Regions from separate parts of the Homo sapiens genome. Here region 2 is linked to region 1. Evidence: promoter capture Hi-C in human tissues and cell types (Jung and others, 2019). All regions are on one chromosome and are shown on one strand. The core of a region is centred on a gene start or on the middle of the fragment in contact, and the rest is flanking DNA. Distances in the headings are between cores, read along the strand shown. Region 1 holds the start of FHOD3 (formin homology 2 domain containing 3). Region 2 overlaps FHOD3 (formin homology 2 domain containing 3).

Evidence for each region. The method cuts DNA at HindIII sites, captures the fragments that hold promoters and counts their contacts. A contact is called where the count stands out against the background at its distance.
Region 2: a contact is called between a fragment that was not itself captured here and the fragment with the promoter of FHOD3 in region 1, in 1 of the 25 tissues and cell types used here (dorsolateral prefrontal cortex).

Annotation. Positions count from the first base shown.
Region 1 is chr18:36,294,675-36,299,279 of GRCh38, forward strand. FHOD3 (formin homology 2 domain containing 3) reads left to right here and starts at 3,039. Exons shown (of 29, transcript NM_001281740.3): 1 at 3,039-3,326. The coding sequence starts at 3,162. RefSeq lists an enhancer at 1,885-2,862 and silencers at 2,802-3,091, 3,212-3,281. The HindIII fragment of the contact is 5,975 bases long and covers 1-4,605 here.
Region 2 is chr18:36,643,557-36,647,936 of GRCh38, forward strand. All of the region lies in intron 10 of FHOD3 (formin homology 2 domain containing 3), which reads left to right. Among named protein-coding and RNA genes, the nearest start is that of TPGS2, 180 kb to the right of the region's middle. The HindIII fragment of the contact is 3,860 bases long and covers 452-4,311 here.

The sequences.
Region 1 (4,605 bases), core at 1,789-4,288:
AGGATAGGGATGTTTAGTTGCCCAGTGAAAATCAGAGCCTAGAAGGGAGGAGAGGGACTCCTCTGTGAGTATAGAGTTGGATGCATGCAGGTTGAGGACGGTTGAAGCCAGGAAAATCTAGAGGAAATGTGAACAGGACCAAGAGGAGGATGAAGCCCAGAAAGACTTGAGAAGGAGCTGTCAAAGGAGGAGGAGAACCTACAGTGGGTAGAGCTATTGAGCTGAGGGGGTAAGAGTCTGAGAAAAGAATCTTCCATGGTGCCATGGTGACAGATGCTGCCAAGAAAGTGGGTAGCAGGGCCAAGGTGTCCTCCAGGTAAGAAAATTAGGCTGGCATTGATGATCTTAGAATGGCAGGAAGGGGTTTCCTTCCAGATGTCATGGGGTATGGAGAAAAGGTGATGAGGATGCTAAGAAATGAATATGGCTCTCTCTCAGAAGTTGGTTAGGAAGTGATGATGAGATAAGCCAGGGAGCTAGAGTGAGAAGTGGGCTTCATAAAGATGCAGCTTTTAAGATGGAAAACACTTGAGTATTTATTCTCATTAGGATTGAGTACATAACTTATGGGGCCCAGTGCACAACTAAAATGCCGGGACTCCTTAAAAAAGTATTTAAAAAATTCAAGACAACAACAGCTAAACATTAAACCAATTTGGGACCCTTTAAAGTGCAGAGCCCTGTGTGGCTTCAAGAGTTGCACATCAGGAAGCAGGCCCTGGTTCTCAGGGTAAGGGGCCAGGGGAGGAAGGTGGAAGTGAGTGGATCAGTGATAGAGCCCCAGGCAAGAGCAAGTGGGATGAAAGGGACCCAGGGTCCAGGTGGGGGCAGAGCCTTGAATGGGAGGAAAAGTATGACTTTGGTCACCTTCTGAGAAGTGGGAGATGGAAGATGGAGAGGAGATGGAAAATAAGATGAAAGATGAAGAGGAGAGGGTGCTAGAAGTCATTCTGGAGAAATTATTTACCTTATTGACTAATTTCTGAGTCGAGGAAAGGGGCAGAAGCTTGCAGCAGCATCAGTGGAGTAAGAGGCTGAGGGGCTTTGGGGTGGAAGTGGGGCACTGAGTGGTCCCACTAGCAGCAGGCACTTGGTAGATGGGGCAGAAGCAAGCCAGGTACCCAAAGGACAGGTGGGACTGAAGGAGGGGTGTGGAGAGGAGGCCCCTGAGAGGATGGGCTGGGATCCGGGTTGGAAAAGTGATAGGAAATGAGGTGGCCAGGACTGGAGGGCTCTCTCAGTGAGGAGGGAGGTGGACGTGAAGGTGGAAGTGCAGGCGGCCCATCTCAGAGGGGAAGAATTCGTGCGTTTAGTATTCTGGCTGTGAGGAGATGCGGAAGTTGGTGGAGATCCAGTCTAGATCAGGGGTCCCTAACCCCGCGGCCGCAGACCGGTACTGGTCCGTAGCCTGTTAGGAACCGGGCCACACAGCAGGTGAGCGGCCAGTGAGCGAGCATTACCGCCTGAGCTCCGCCTCCTGTCAGATCAGCGGAGGCATTAGATTCTCATGCCAGAGAGAGCCCTATTCTGAACTGCGCATGCGAGGGATCTAGGTAGCGCGCTCGTATGAGAATCTAATTCTTGATGATCTGAGGTGGAACAGTTTCATTCTGAAACCATCTGCCCTTCCTCCCCCAAACGCCCCCCACCCCCACCCCACCACTGTCCGTGGAAAAATCGTCTTCCACAAAACCGGTCCCTGGTGCCAAAAAGATTGGGGACGGCTAATCTAGAGGATTCATTCAAAGAGTTAAATAACAAAGAAAGTAGAGCTAGAAGTTCGTCTGGAAGGAGCGGAAGTGTCGTGGAATTATTATTTTAAGATCAGGCATAAGTGTGTATGTGTGGCAGGGAGGGAGATCACGGAGAGGGAGAGGTTAAAGATGTGGGTGAGGCTGCTAAATAGGGATAAGGGTTTCTTTTCCCTTGAAACCAGAGGAAAGGGAGATAGACGCGTTATAGAGTCGCCTTGAAAACACTCGGATGTTAAGAGAGACTGGGTGTTATGAGGGCGATCTATATAAGGGGGGAGGAACCAGGAACTTGGCTGTGGCCTGGGAATAGGGAGAACCGTGAATTTTTCTTGAAAACGAAGGGGGTCGCCCGTGAGCAGCGAGGAGAGCGGTGGGAGGCAGCGCCGAGTCTTGCCGCTCCCGCCTGGCAGGGGCGGGCAGGACGCAAACCTTCCTTCCCAGTCCCTCGGTTACCAGGGCATCCCCGGCTCTCTGCAATTCGGGAACCTTGCCAGAAGGGCTCCCACCTCCCCAAGCCCCCGCGGCCCCACAAGGTCCAATTAGGGCTTTCGGCGGCCTAACTGGGGAGAGGCCGTGGTGATGCAGAGGTTTAACCAGCATCCGCCGGGAGCCCCGGGGTCCAGGCCCGGCGCTGGAGTCCCGCAGCGAAGCCTCGCAGCCCCCACGCCTCTCGACTCTAGGCTTGTGCCCTAAAAGCGGCCTGGGTTCCCTGGCGCACCCTCCTCTTTCTTAGCTTCTTTGTCCCTAAGGGAAACCTCCCCGTACCCTTAGGTGGGGCTCCCGGTCACTGCCACCACCCCTCTTGCTGCCGAAGCCGGCTCCCTGGCCACCTGGTGCCCTGCCGGGGTATTCCAAATCTGGGCAGCAGAAGCCGGCCGCCGCCGCCTTCATCTGGAAAGGCTTAAGCCTTCTCCGGGTGGGGAAGAAGTCAGAAGGCCGCCTGTCTCCCCGTCCCCCAACCCCCCAACTCCCCAACTCGGTCCTCCAGGCTCCGAGGGGTGCAGCTCGGCCCTGGGCCGCGGGGCGCACGTGCAGCAGAGTCCGGCCGCCCGGCCTCCCCGCCCCGCCTCCGCCGCCGGCCTTTGGCGCAGGGCTGCGGATGCCGCGCGAGCCGTCTCCTTTGCACTTTCCCGGCTGCGGTCCGGTCGTTCGGGGCAGCCCGGCCGGGGGTAGAGGACCCGGAGGAGGGGAGGAGCCGGAGGGAGAGGGGAAGGAGGGGGCCCGCCGGCCCCGCCCCCGCCCCGCCCCCCGCGGCCGGAGCCCGGGCTGCAGCCCGGCGCGCCTGAGCCTGCGAGTCCGCGAGCCAGCGAGCTGCGGCTGCGGCCTCCCCTGCGCGCAGCTACCCGGGCGTCCCGGCCCGCGGCCCCGCTAACCCCGGGGCCCGCGCCCCCGCGGCAGGGATGCATCATGGCCACGCTGGCTTGCCGGGTGCAGTTCTTGGACGACACGGACCCTTTCAACAGCACCAACTTCCCCGAGCCCAGCCGGCCGCCGCTGTTCACGTTCCGCGAGGACCTCGCGCTCGGCACCCAGCTGGCGGGGGTCCATAGGCTGCTGCAGGCGCCGCACAAGGTACGACCCGGCGGGGTGGGCTGGGCCCCCTGGACTCAGCCCCCTGCCGCGGTGCGCGCCGGGGTGGGTCCCGGGGCTTCGTGGGCCCCCTGGGCTGGGCTGGGCGCGGCCCGGGGGGACCATCGCTCGAGGGCAAATCCCCCTCCCCGTTAGACAGAAGGGCTCGAGGCACCCGCTGGTTGGCGCAGGACCCTCCGGGGCGGGCGGGAAGGAACAGCTAGAGCCGGGGGCGGGCGTGGCAGAGCAGGTGCCGAGCCGGTCCGAGGCGGGATGGAGAAGGCTCCCCCGAGCCGCGCCGTTAGCTCGGCCGGGTGGGCGGGGTGGGGCTAGGACGCGGGCAGTCGGCCTCGGCACTCGGGCGGGCACCAAGCGGGGCGCGGGAAGAAGCGGAGCGCCGCGAGACTCAGGTCCCTTGGAGAGGAGAGCTCTGAGCGACGGCCGGGACAAAACCTCCCTCAGGCCTCTGGGGCCGCTGCGGGCGGCCACGCGACCCTCGCGACAAAGCACGCTTCCCGGCGACACCGCCTCCTCCTTCCCCCGGGGGCGCCGCCGGGGACGCCGGCCGCACACTGCGATAGCGCTCAGGGTATCCCCCTTTTCTTCTGAGAAGCAGGTGGCCTTGGGAACCTCGGAGGAGCAGTCGCTGTGGGAGGAGGGGCGGGGGCGCGGAGGGGCGGCGCGCTCACAAAGCCTCAGCTTGGCAGCCCGAAATGAGTGTCCCCTGGGAAGAATGGCTGCTCAGTCTACCCGTTAGAGAGGTTTTTTTTTTTTTATTTGTTATTTTTATTTAAATAAAACCTTTTGCAGGAGGATAGGCCTCTTGCAAAGCATTTGTTGCAAAGAGGTGGGTATTGAAAGCTAATCATTTCGTTACCTAGGAAAACCCTTACTCTCACTTAGACAGATTGAATGCAGCTTGCAAAATTACCTTCCCAGTATTTTTTCTGCCTAGGATTCATATCAAAGCTTGGAGATGATTTATTTCTTGAGGGTCGACATTAACACATATTTGGAAGAGATAAGCGTTGATGCCCAAAAGAACAAAATTGATTTAAAAAAAAACCTCGGATTTCTGTATGATGTTGACCTGCTTTGCAAGTAGAGGAGGAGGTTGGTTGTGTGAGGAAACTGGTGGACTTTAGCAGTGGTAGTTTCCTCTCTATTAATGTATCAGTGCTTTCCTCCTCTACTTAGTTAGTAACGTTTTCAGGAATAAGGAATGGGGCATTTCCATCTCATTCTCTCCTGGTTGGTTCAGGACGGATACAGTCGTGGAAAC
Region 2 (4,380 bases), core at 1,132-3,631, 350 kb after region 1:
TATATATCCTCGTATCAACAATATATGAATTAGTTGACTTGCATTCTTTTCATCACTTGGTATCATTAGACTTCTAATTTTACCAAGTAGATAGAAAATGGTATCTCACTGTGGCCTTAATTCATAGTGCCCTGATTGATAATCAGAATAAAATATCTCTTCATACCAGTTTGTTGGCTGTGTTCATGTATTTTGTTCATTTTATAGTTGTGTTTTTGAAGTTTAAAATATATTTTCATATATTCTTGATTTGAGTTTGTCTGTTAGATATATTGCAAATGTCTGCTCCCAGTGTATTGCTCAACTTTTTCTCATTCTGATTGCTTTGGTCTTAGAACATACTTTAACATTATTTTGAATGTTTGTATCGTGTTTCTGAAAGAGCTCAGCAACATTCATTTTCCTTTTGGTGTTTGGAAGCCCGAGAAACATGACCCATTAGCCTGAGACCCAAATCCGAGGCATTACATTGGCTTTGTTGGAAACTACGCCCCAAAGAACTGGTCAGGCTGCAGGCCTCTGGGTTGCTTTTCCAACTTGAAAACGGTGACCTCAAATCTGGGACTGTTTGCGGTGAAAAGGAAGATACCTAATGGATTTGGAACAGGCCTGGGCCCTGGAGTAACTCCTTATCAATCACAAGCAAAAGACCTGTGGAGGTATTGGAAAGCCAAAGGCCAAACACCCAGAATTCCTTAGCACAATATAAACACAATTAAGTTACGCTTTATAAGAAAATCTAGTTTGAGAAAAAGCAAAGTTGTCAGAATTAATTATTCAGTCTTAAATATTATTAGCATAAAAATCATTTCATTTGACTGATTTTATCATAGACTGGAACTAAATAAAATCAAGCCTCGAAAGTCCTGTGCCCTAGGAGAGGATATTTCCTTCTCCACCCCTTTGCATTATAGGCAAGGCCAGTGATCTGGTCATAGGGCATCCTGGACGTAGGCCCTCCAAGTGGGTCATTGTGCTGTCTGCCCTTGGTTCTGCCCTGCCACTTATGATAGCAAAGCTACAACACATACATCATATGAAGATTTATTGTGGGATCTGAGGATGTTGAGCCCAAAGAGAAGACAGCTTGGGATGTAGGTTCAGATAGCTGTCTTTAAATATCTGTGAGACAGCCATTTGGAAAAGAGTTGGATCAAAAAGACAAAGTGCTTTTACATATTAATGCATTCCTCCTAGGGGATAGGTACTGTTAGTGCCCCATGTAGGGATGAGTAAAGTGGGGTCCAAGGTCACAGGGCTCAAAAGTGGTGACTCTGAAGACCAGACCCAGGCAGTCTGGCTCCAGAACCTCTCCAGCTCTACCTGGGAGAGTAAATGGAATCAAGGAATTTTGGAGGGAGGGGCTCAGTGTTTTGTTTTAAAGAGGAGAGGCCCATCGGTTGGCAAGGTGGAGGGCATTTTGTGTGGACCAGAAGTAATAACACCTGCAAACTCCTGATCAAGCTGAGGGAAGGTGGCCTCATGATGGAGCTTGTAGGTATAGTTTGGCAGCTGTGGGAGCACATGGAGGAAAAGAAGACTGAGGCTGGTAGGGGGTGGTGTGTATGAGGGTATACTATGCCAAGCTCAGAAGGATGGCTGAGTCCGGGCATGGTGGCTTTGGGAGGCTGAGGTGGGTGGATCACTTGAGGTTAGGAGTTCAAGACCAGCCTGGCAAACATGGTAAAAACTCATCTCTACTAAAAATACAAAAATATTCATCCATGGTGGCATATGCCTGTAGTCCCAGCTATTCGGAAGGCTGAGGCACGAGAATCACTTGAACTCAGGAATCAGAGGCTGCAGTGAACCAAGATGGTGAGATTGTGCCACTGCACCTCAGCCTGGGTGACAGAGTGAGACTCTGTCTCAAAAAAAAAGGAAGGATGGCTTAGATGTGCTTGTTTGTGGCTTCTGCCATGACAGGAGGGATGCTATCTCACTGCTCTCCTTGTTTCTGCTAGAGGCACCCCGAGTCCAGATCCATCTCTCCCTTCTTAGTTACATAATTCTCAATCCCTCTACCTACCTCTTTATAAGGCCAGTATAACCTTGATTTCAAAATCTGACAAGCACATTATAGAAAGGGGAATTACAGATCAATCTCTTTCCAAAATAGGTAAAAAATTCTTAATAAATTAAGAAATAGAATCTAGCTGTATATAAAAAGATAATACATTACAACAAAATGTATTATCTTTATTAAGTTTATTCATGGTATGCAAGGTTGGCTTAACATTTTTTTTAAAAAAGCAGTCTTCATAGCTCTTTAACAGAAAAAAGGAAAAATCATATGATTATCTTAAATGCAGGAAAGGCATTTGACAGAACTTTAATACTTGTTTATAATAAAGATTTTTAGCAAACTAGGATTAGAAGGAAATTTTTTAATGAAGGCTATCTACCAAAAAAATCTATGACAAACCTTATACTTTTCCCTGAGATTTGGAACAAGAAAAGGAAGCATCACTGTCTCCATTTCTTCATAATGTTGGAGGTCCTAGCAAGTGGACTAGGGCAAGGAAAAGGAAAGGCAGATGAATTGGAAAGAAGTAGGTAAAGCCATCATTATTTAGTGATGAAACGATTGTCTACAGAGGAAGTCTAAAAGAAGCTCTAGAAACAGTATAATAAATTTAGAAAAATTGCTGGATACAAGCAAAATTTACAAAAAGTTTATTTCTATATACTATCAACAAATAGAAAATAAAATTGAGTTCAATAATATGTACAGTAGCATCCAAATTTATACCTAAAAATAAAGATATCTAAGACCTCTGTGAAAATTTAAACACTATTAAGAGAAATTAAGATAGCAGTAAGATTAGGTCTAAATAAAGGCTATATATATCACAACCATAGATTAAAAAACATAGCAAAGATGTCAGTTCTTCAAATTTGCATATAAATTCAACATAATCCCTATCAATAGTACAGCAAAAAACAAGTTGACTTGTGAGAAAAAGTCCAGAAATCTACAAATATATATCTTAATGTATATTAACCTGATTTGTGAACAAGATACTGAAGTGGAGAGAAGGCCCTTTACTAAATGGTTCTGGGCCAATTGCGTATCGATGTAGGGAAAAAAATGTATCTGACCCCTATCTTACATGATAACAAAAATCAATTAGAGATGGACTCTACAAATGTAAATCTGAAAGTTAGTGAAATGAAGCTTTTAGAAGGACACAGAGACTATCTTTAAGACCTGGTGTAAACAACAACAACAAAAATTAACACACAAAGGCATTAGCCATCAAAGGTAAACAGGACATTATTAAGAACTTCTGCTTATTAAAAGATGACATGAAGTGAATGAAAGACAATAGAGAAGGGAAAGATGTTTACAGAACATATAAATGACAAAGGGCAAATGATATTAAAAACACTTCTTCGGCCGGGTGCGGTGGCTCATGCCTGTAATTCCAGCACTTTGGGAGGCCAAGGCGGGTGGATCACCTGAGGTCGGGAGTTTGAGACCAGCCTGGCCAACATGATGAAACCCCGTCTCTACTAAATAATAATACAAAAAATTAGCTGGGCATGGTGGTGGGTGCCTGTAATCCCAGCTACTTGGGAGGCTGAGGCAGGAGAATCGCTTGACCCGGGAGGCAGAGGTTGCAGTGAGCCAAGATCGTGCCACTGCACTCCAGCCTGGGCAACAAGAGCAAAACTTTGTCTTCAAAAACACACTTCTTCAAATACAAAAAAAAATTCATTTTTTTAATGGGCAAAAAACTACTTGGACACTTCAAAGAAGAGCATATCCAAATGGACATTAAAAGTGTGACAGTGTGCCCAACTTCATTAGTCATCAGAGAAAGCAAACTAAAAGCACAGTGAGACATCACTACACACAGATCAATGGCTAAAATGAAATAGACAAAATTATCAGATCTTGGCAAGAATGTAAAACAATCAGAATGCTCATCTACTACTTATGGGGATGGTAATTCATCCCATCATTTTTTTAAATGGCAGTTATTAATAAAGATGAACCCAAGCATATCTTATGACCCAAAAATTTCATCCCAAGATATAGTACACAGTAATATATACATATGTTCACCAGAAGACATGTACTACACTGTTTATGACAGCACTATTCAAAATAGCCCCAAATTGAAGGGTACCCAAGGGTCATCAGAAGTAGAATGGGTAAACTACTGGAATACAGCAATAAGAAGGAATGATCTTCAAGTATACGTAACTATGTCAATGAATCCCACAGCTGTAATGTTGAACAAAAGCTAGGCAGATTATGATTCCTTTTAGATGGAGAATAAAACCAGGCAAAGCTAACTTACACTATTTGATGTGGGGTGGGAGAGGGAAGCAATTGGAAAGGAGCATTAAGGGGGTGCTGGTTAGATAGGT